Regions from separate parts of the Homo sapiens genome. Here region 1 is linked to region 2. The links are contacts of gene promoters, found by promoter capture Hi-C in blood cells and fetal thymus (Javierre and others, 2016). All regions are on one chromosome and are shown on one strand. The core of a region is centred on a gene start or on the middle of the fragment in contact, and the rest is flanking DNA. Distances in the headings are between cores, read along the strand shown. Region 1 overlaps LINC01664 (long intergenic non-protein coding RNA 1664). Region 2 holds the start of CECR3 (cat eye syndrome chromosome region, candidate 3).

Region 1 (4,087 bases), core at 1,225-3,724, 140 kb after region 2:
AGAAACCATTCATTCTTTCTCATTTAATTTCACTTATTTATTTATTATATTTTGAGATGGGGTCCCGCTATGTTGACCCAGCTGGTCTTGAACTCCTGGGCTCAAGCAATTCTCCCGCCTCAGCCTCCTGAAGTGCTGGGATTACAGGTGTGTACCACCACACACCACACACTCTGGCTGGAGTGCAGTGGCGTGATCATGGCTCACTGCAGCCTTGACTTCCTTGGGCTCTAGTGATGCTCCCACCTCACCCTCCCAAATAGCTGGGACTACAGGTGTGCACTACCACACCCAGCTAATGTAATTTTTTTTTTTTTTTTTTTGAGACGGAGTCTCGCTCTATCGCACAGGCTGGAGTGCAGTGGTGCAATCTCGGCTCACTGCAACCTCTGCCTCCCGAGTTCAAGTGATTCTCTCACCTTGGCCTCCCGAGTAGCTGGGATTACAGGCGCCCGCCACCACACCCAGCTAATTTTCTGTATTTTTAATAGAGATGGGGTCTCACAATGTTGGCCAGGCTGGTCTCAAACTCCTGACCTCAGGTGATCCACCTGCCTCAGCCTCCCAAAGTGCTGGGATTACAGGCGTGAGCCACCGTGCCCAGCCTGTAATTTTTTTATTGAAACAGGAACTTGCTATGTTACCCAGGCTGGTCTGGAACTCCTGGGCTCAAGTGATACCCCTGCCTCAGCCTTCCAAAGTGTTGGGATAACAGGTGTGAGCCACAGTGCCCAGCCCCCTATTTATTACTCGTTTGGGTTTCCTAAAGATATCATAAGCTATTTTAGGCTGGGTGCAAAAGAGCAAGTGTCCTGCCACATGACTTATGCAAATCCAGAGAGCAGGGCCAGCCACTCAGCTCTGATTCCAATTTTGTCCCTTAGGGGCTTTGTCTAAACCCTGGAACCAAAACTCATCCAGCTGCTTTCATTTGCTCAATCCCAAATGAATGACAATGTTATCTTTTTGTGTTTTGATGGAGCCGAGTGAATAAAAAAAAAAGACTGAGTGCATCGAATAGGATGTAAGGCCATATTTTTAATGAAATTATTAACATGGGACAAAACTTCATCAGGTTGCACATTGAACAGATAAAATCCCCTTGGGTCTGAGCCATTACCTTGGAATCAGAACATGGGCATTTCCTTGGTGTTCCCCTTGGCGGCAGCCGCCTGCTCTCAGCCTGAGGCAGGTGCAGGGAGCCTGCTGGTAATCGGGACACCCTGCAGAGCTGGGGTTGCTGTAGCAACCAGATGCTGCCTGGAGGGCGGAATTTTAAAATATCTCAGCTATAATAGTTTTTTTCACATTCTGTCACTTCCCCAGTGCTGCATCATACTGCTGAGGTGGGCCATGCGGGGACACAGGGGCCCTTGGGTGGCAGCTTCTGTGGGTGTTGGAAGTGGGAAGATGGTCTCAGGGTGTTAACTGCTGGGCAGCCGACAGCCTCAGCTTTCGCTTCCAGGTTCCTCCAGCTCTTGGTTCCAAAGCCTCGTGTCATTTTCTCTCTTTTTGGGGTGAGAGGGGATGGAGAGAGAGAATAGGAGTCTAGCTTGAAACTCCTTCCCTACCTCCTCCCCCTCTGATTTGAGCTTTCTGGCTCTGCATCCCTAGGCGAGCAGCCTTGGCGTTCCTGGAGCTGTCTCTTTGGAGAGGGGAGGGGTGTTCCTTCTTCCTTTCTTGTCTGCTTCTTCCTTTGGTCTTTCTTTTTTTTTTTTTTCTTGAGACGGAGTCTCGCTCTGTTGCTCAGGCTGGAGTGCAGTGGCACGATCTCGACTCACTGCAAGCTCCGCCCCCCGGGTTCACGCCATTCTCCTGCCTCAGCCTCCCCAGTAGCTGGGACTACAGGCACCCGCCACCACCCCCGGCTAATTTTATTTTTTTAATTTTTAGTAGAGACGGGGTTTCACTGTGTTAGCCAGGATGGTTTCCATCTCCTGACCTCGTGATCCGCCTGCCTCGGGCTCCCAAAGTGCTGGGATTACAGGCGGGAGCCACCGCGCCCGGCCCCTTTGGTCTTTCTAACTTCCTCTTTCGGCTTCATTTATTCACATATAAATGACTGTTGCTCTCCTACCAAATGCAGTGTTAAGAAATGAGGGCCGGGCTCGGTGGCTCACGCCTGTAATCCCAGCACTTTGGGAGGCCGAGGCAGGCGAATCACTTGAGGTTAGGAGTTTGAAACCAGCCTGGCCAACATAGTGAAACCCTATCTCTACTAAAAACAAAACAAAACAAAACAAAAATTAGCCAGGCAGGTGGCACGTGCCTGTAGTCCCAGCCACTCGGGAGGCTGAGGCAGGAGAATCACTTGAAACCGAGAGGCGGAGGTTGCAGTGAGCCGAGATTGCACCATTGCACTCCAGCCTGGATGACAGAGTGAGACTCCATCTCAAAAAAAAAAAAAAAAAAAGAAAGAAAGAAAAGAAACGAGAAATTCCCTTGTTCTAGAGGAATTCATCCTGTCTTGACCCTGGACTTGCCTATCAGATATCAAACATTTTTATGAAGTTACAGTAATTAAGACACTGTACTACTGGCAGAGGGAGAGACACAAACCAATGGCACAAAGGAGAGTACCCAGAAACAGACCTACACATGTATGAAAATGTGGCCTCACAAAATCTTTCTTTCTTACTCATTTCATAGCCTGATATGGGTCAGGTGGCTACTCTTGACCTTTTTGCTTCAAGTGGTGACTCAGGGATCCAGGCACCCTCCAGTTGGTGATGCTGTCATCTTCCACACATGGGTCCAAGGTCTGTGGGAGAGAGTGTGAATGGATAACTGTGAAGGGATTTATGGCCGAACCAGGCTGTGGTGGGTGCCACATGTGTGCATGTTTATTGGCTAGCCACATGGTTCTAATGTGACTGCAAAGAGGATGGGAAATGTGGTCTTTCTCTGTCTAGGAAGAGGAAATGGGATTGAACAGCATCTAGTCTGTCTCTGTTGCCATATTACTATTTACTAGGAATAAAGAAATTCTGGCCAGGCTTGGTGGCTTACACCTATAATCCCAGCACTCTGGGAGGCAGAAGCAGGAGGATCTCTTGAGTCCAGGAGTTTGAGACTAGCCTGGGCAACATGGGGAGACCCTCTCTCTACAAACAAACAAAAAAATAGCTGGGCGTGGTGGCACATGCTTGTAGTCACAGCTACTTGGAAGGCTGAGGCAGGAGGGTTGCTTGAGCCCAGGATTCAAACCTGCAGTGAACTATGATTGTGCCACTGCACTCTGGTCTGGACAACAGAGCAAGACCAATAGAGCAAAAAATTTTGTTTTGCTCAATTTTTGTTGAAATTCATGAATAGATATTAAATGTTTGTTTCTCTGTATTTGTTGAGTTGATCTTAAGTGTTCTTCTCCTTTAATCTGTTAATATGGTAAACCATATTAATATATTTTGTTTTTATCTTTTTTTTTTTTTTTTTTTTTGGAGACAGGGTCTCTCTCTGTCACCCAGGTTGCAGTACAGTTGTGCAGTCCTGGCTCACGGCAGCCTCGACCTCCCGGGCTTAAACAATTCTCCCGCCTCAGCCTCCCAAGTAGCTGGGACTACAGGTATGTGCCACCACACCCCAGCTAATTTTATTGTTTAATTTTTTGTAGAGGTGAGGTCTTGCCATGTTGCCTAGGCGGCTCTCAAACTCCTGGGCTTCAAGCGCTCCTCCCACCTTGGCCTCTAGAATGTTGGGATAACAGGCGTGAGTCACTATGCCCAGCCTGTTGTCATCTTTAACTCTTTCTTTCATCCCTGGGATAAAACCAAGTTGGTTATGTTACATGTTGCTGGCCGCTACTGCTGGTAATTTGTTCAGGAGTTCTTTGTCTATGTTCATAAGTGCAATTGGTCTATGTCTTAGTCCATTCAGGCTATTAGAAGACCATAGACTGGGTGTCCTGTGAAAACAGAAATTTATTTCTCATACTTTTGGAGACTGGACAGTCCAAGATCAAGGCATCAGCAGATTTGGTGTCTGGTGAGGGCCTAATTCCTGCTCCTTGGTTGGCCTGGACCAGAGAGGTGGCCAGCCTTTGAATCTGCTCTGCACTGTGGGTCCTTGCACTCTGGGCTGGTGATGG
Region 2 (4,118 bases), core at 1,045-3,544:
TTCTGAAGCTTTACCCAAGTTCTGCTCCCTGGAGCCACATGGAAGGAAGTTCTGCCTGACAGCCTTTCCAGCACCCTGGGAAGCTGCCGATTTATTTTCTTTACCCCTGACTTCACTTATCTAGGATCCCAACAGAGACTGACAAAGCCAGAGACCCTGATGGTTTAGGATTCCAAGGTTTCTTATGCCTCTAGCTGCTCAGCCAGGAGCTTTCTTGATTTTGTGTTTTTCAAATGAGAAGCATCTTACCAGCTAAGTAAGTCTAAGAGTGTCATGACTCATGGACCTTGGAAACCAATGGTCAGTAGTTTGGGATTCTTTGGGTGGATCAAGAGATTTTCTTGGGGACCTAGGAGCACCTCGATGTGTGGAGGGCCTGAGCAGATGGACTAGTGCCCTCCTCTGGATGGAATTGGAGGTTCCCCTTACGCCCCAATCCCTCCACCCCTGCCCTGGGGCTTTTTTTTTTTTTTCTTTTTTTGCTTGGTGGAATGGGAGAGTACTTTTCAAAGTTACAGTTACATAGAAAAGTTAAAATCACAGCACTATTGCATATCTGAGTGCCAAGAATTACGTTTGTCTTGCTGCAGGTGAGGGAAATGAGGTCACTTCTCAAGAAGTTTGCATTTTCTGAGAAAATGTGGACACAATGGAAAAGCCAAGGCATAAAACCATACACCTGAGAAGGCTGAAGCAAATTGCTCCAGGACTTACAGCACAGTGGGTACGTGTTCCGCAGGTGAGAGGCAGCCTCTGCAGAGGCTGACAAGTCCTTTTTGGATGACACTGTGACTCAGCCCTCATATTCCCCTCTCCAGGGCGATGATCCACCTGGTGCTGTGGCTGCTGAGATTCTAGTCATCCTACTCGCTCTAGGCTGGTGTGATTCTTTTGTTTGTTTGTTTGTTTGAGATAAGTCTCGCTCTGACGCCCAGGCTGGAATGCAATGGTTTGATCTCAGCTCACTGCAGCCTCTGCCTTCCGGGTCCAAGCGATTCTTGTGCCTCAGGCTCCTGAGTACTGGGACTATAGGCGCCCAACAACACAACTGGCTAATTTTTGAATTTTTAGTAGAGACGGGTTTCACCATATTGGCCAGGCTGGTTTCGAACTCCTGACCTCAAGTGATCCGCCCACCTCGGCCTCCCCAAGTCCTGGGACTACAGACCTGAGCCACTGCGCCTGGCCTAGACTGGTGTCATTCTGACATTTCCAGGCCACGAAGCAGTCCCAGACTCAGCAGCCCTGGGCATCTGCCGTAGCCCTGTTGTATGATCTGCTCTGCCACTCATGAGGCATGACTCACCCTCCTACCCTCTCCGAGCCTCAGTTTACTCATTTAAATCTCAAAGCCTCCACAGATAATTGGGAAATGAAAGGAAAATCGTGTAAGTATGAATACCTTCCACAGATAGCGGGATCTCATTAATACTAGTTTTCCCCTTTCCATACCTCCCAGCAAAGAAAAGTTGGTAACTGCAGGCCTCTGAACTAGTGCCCCACATCGGAGATACCGGCCACTTCTTACTGAACATTTGCCTGTGTCTACTATAAGGATATAAGATCATCTCAACCTCCCAAGAAGCCGATATTAGCACCCCCATTTTTGCAGCTAAAGAAACTTAGGTGCAGAAAAATGAAATAGCATATTCAAGGTCACAGAATGACCTGGGGCAGAGCTACAGTCTAGACCCCCATCTGTCTGATATAAACCCCATTCTATGAACCCTCAACATTGCTACTCCCCTTCCAACGCCACTGGAGCAGAAAGCTCCAAAACTGGGTGAAGCACATACAGCTCTATAGCAGGCAACCCCATTCCTGTGTTCCACCTAGTGAAGAACCAGGAGGTTGTGCATGACCAAGGTGGTTCAGGGTGAAGGTCAGGGGCTGGCTGAAAATGGAAGGCATCTCAGGCTGGGTCTTTGACTGTGATTATGTCAGGGTTGGGGCTGAAATATTGTGAGTGGTAACTGAGGTTTCAACCTCTTCCCTAGGAAAGAGTGGGGGTGGGGTGGTGAAGCTGGTTAATTGAGATGGGAGGGTTGGGGTGGGGGCAGGCAGAGCCTTCCAAGGCCTTCAGATCCGGTGCTGTTACCGTAAACAAGTGCAACCCTCAGCTCCCTGGAGGGCCTGGGGAGCAAATGCGTGCATCCCTGCTTCGTTCCCAGCAGCTGTTCACTGGAGGACGCAGCCTGCCATCCCCAGCCGACCTCCTCCACAGCCTTCCCCAGCCCCCAGATCAAGCCTCAGGAAGTGGCGCTGCTGAGAATCTCTCCTCCAGCCCTGCCTCCTGCCGAGAGTGTCTTCAGCGCCAGCATTTCCTGGCCTAATTAAGCTGGGTAATGAGTAGCTAAGAGGAGGGGATAAAAGCCCTAGGCGGCTTAGAGCTGGGACAGTTTATGACAGGGGCGTCTGCAGCTGGTGACATTCCTAGGAAAATTATTTCTCATAACCCTGGGAAGTTGCATGCTGTTTCCTTAGCAGCAGAGTAAGCCTCAAAGGTGAGCATGGGGAACACTGCATCTTAAGGGGGCCTGACTGGAGGGTCCTAAAGGTGACAGGTGGGGGGTGCCATGTGTCTGTAGGACTGATCAGAGCTGCAGAGCAGCTACAGGCCACCCGGGCTAATGCCCTTAGCTTAGTCCGAGGCCGGGGCATCCGTGGTGGCCACGTGACTCCCCAGGGCTTGGGTTTTGTGTTTCTTCTGAATGATAGGACTCTGCACAGCATGCAGTTTCTAAGACCGTATCCTTTCAGGGAAGGAAATCTGAGCTAGAGGCTCTGATCCTGACTCCTCCGCAGCCCACTATTAAGGGTGTGAAAATTGTGTTTTGGAAAATATCAGGTGCCCCAGCAGCCAGGAGTGGGTAGAAGAGCTCTCAGACAGGGGCCCTGGGGGAAAGGGGAAGGTGGGCACCAGGCGCTCTGGACACCAGGGCCCGCCCTTCCAGAGACACTCAGGAGCCCAGCGTTGATTATCCCCACTCCCACTCTGCAGCCACAGCCTCAGCCCCCAAATTCTCCTTCTTTGGCACTCAGTTTTGTTTGTTTGTTTTTTGTGTCAGTTCTGTTTGTTTTTGTTTTCTTCAGTCACCTTGCACTCCTTCCTTAGTTGGCCAGGGAACTTCGTGCTGTATGGGGTGGAGCAGGGCAAGGCCCAGGCTCTGGAGCTCGGCCCATCCCCACGTCTCTGAGTGAACTTGGGAGATCAGGTGACCTCTCAGCCATGGTTTTCCCATTTGTAGAATGAAGGCATTAGTGATGTCTAGTGTCCAGTATGTTATGAACCGCAACCTCCACTTGGCCTGTGAGTGGCGAGCGAGGCTGAAATTGGGCCATGTTTCCCAGACCTTTCAAATTAGGTTACCCAGTTTCACCCAAGAACATTTTTGCCCCAATTATCCTGTAAAGCAGAGTCATAGCTAGTGAGTATGTATTTTATTATTATTATTACTGTTATTATTAGAAACAGGGTCTCATTCTGTCATCCAGGCTGGAATGCCATGGTGTGAACATGGTTCGACCTCCCGGGCCCAAGCAATCCTCCCACCTCAGCCACCCGAATGGCTGGGACCACAGACACGTCACCACACCCAGCTAATTTTTGGTATTTTTTGTAGAGACTGGGTTTCACCATGCTGCCCAGGCTGGTCTCAAACTCTTGGGCCCAAGCGATCCTCCTGCCTTTGCCTCCCAAAGTGCTGGGATTACAAGCGTGAGTCACTTCGCCTGGCTGAATACCTGTTTTTGATGATGGAAGGGCCCATTCTCCTGCACTCTTGTAATCAATATTTGTTCTTTTCCAATTTTCTAAACAAGACCTGTCTGGTGCAATGTCCTCCGAGCCCCGCTTCCTCCACGGCTGGAGCCGGGAGCGGCAGGGAATGTGTGGGCATTCCGTCTTTCCTTCTGATCGCCGCCCTTCACCCTCTGCCCTTGGCTGTTCCCACAGTCCCATCTATTCCCCTGGCCTCCTGCTTGTCTCTCTAAACGAGGAGTGAGTATGCAGATCACAAATAACCTGGTGTTTCCGTTTTTCCCTCTGGCGGTGGTTGCCCCTGGAGTGGAAGGAGACCTGGTGGCCAGATGCCTGACATGGCCGGGACAGCTGGTGC

The links. Contacts are between HindIII fragments. The CHiCAGO score rates a contact against its expected background, and 5 or more counts as called.
Region 1: a contact is called between a fragment that was not itself captured here and the fragment with the promoter of CECR3 in region 2, in 2 of 17 cell types (erythroblasts and non-activated CD4 T cells). The highest score is 5.7, in erythroblasts.

The regions. Positions count from the first base shown.
Region 1 is chr22:17,129,036-17,133,122 of GRCh38, reverse strand. LINC01664 (long intergenic non-protein coding RNA 1664) reads right to left here. Exons shown (of 4, transcript NR_103793.1): 3 at 2,639-2,761; 4 at 1,019-1,508. Among named protein-coding and RNA genes, the nearest start is that of LINC01664, 9.5 kb to the right of the region's middle. The HindIII fragment of the contact is 7,377 bases long and covers 1-4,087 here.
Region 2 is chr22:17,264,909-17,269,026 of GRCh38, reverse strand. CECR3 (cat eye syndrome chromosome region, candidate 3) reads left to right here and starts at 2,294. Exons shown (of 3, transcript NR_038398.2): 1 at 2,294-2,504. RefSeq lists an enhancer at 3,845-4,118. The HindIII fragment of the contact is 21,393 bases long and covers 11-4,118 here.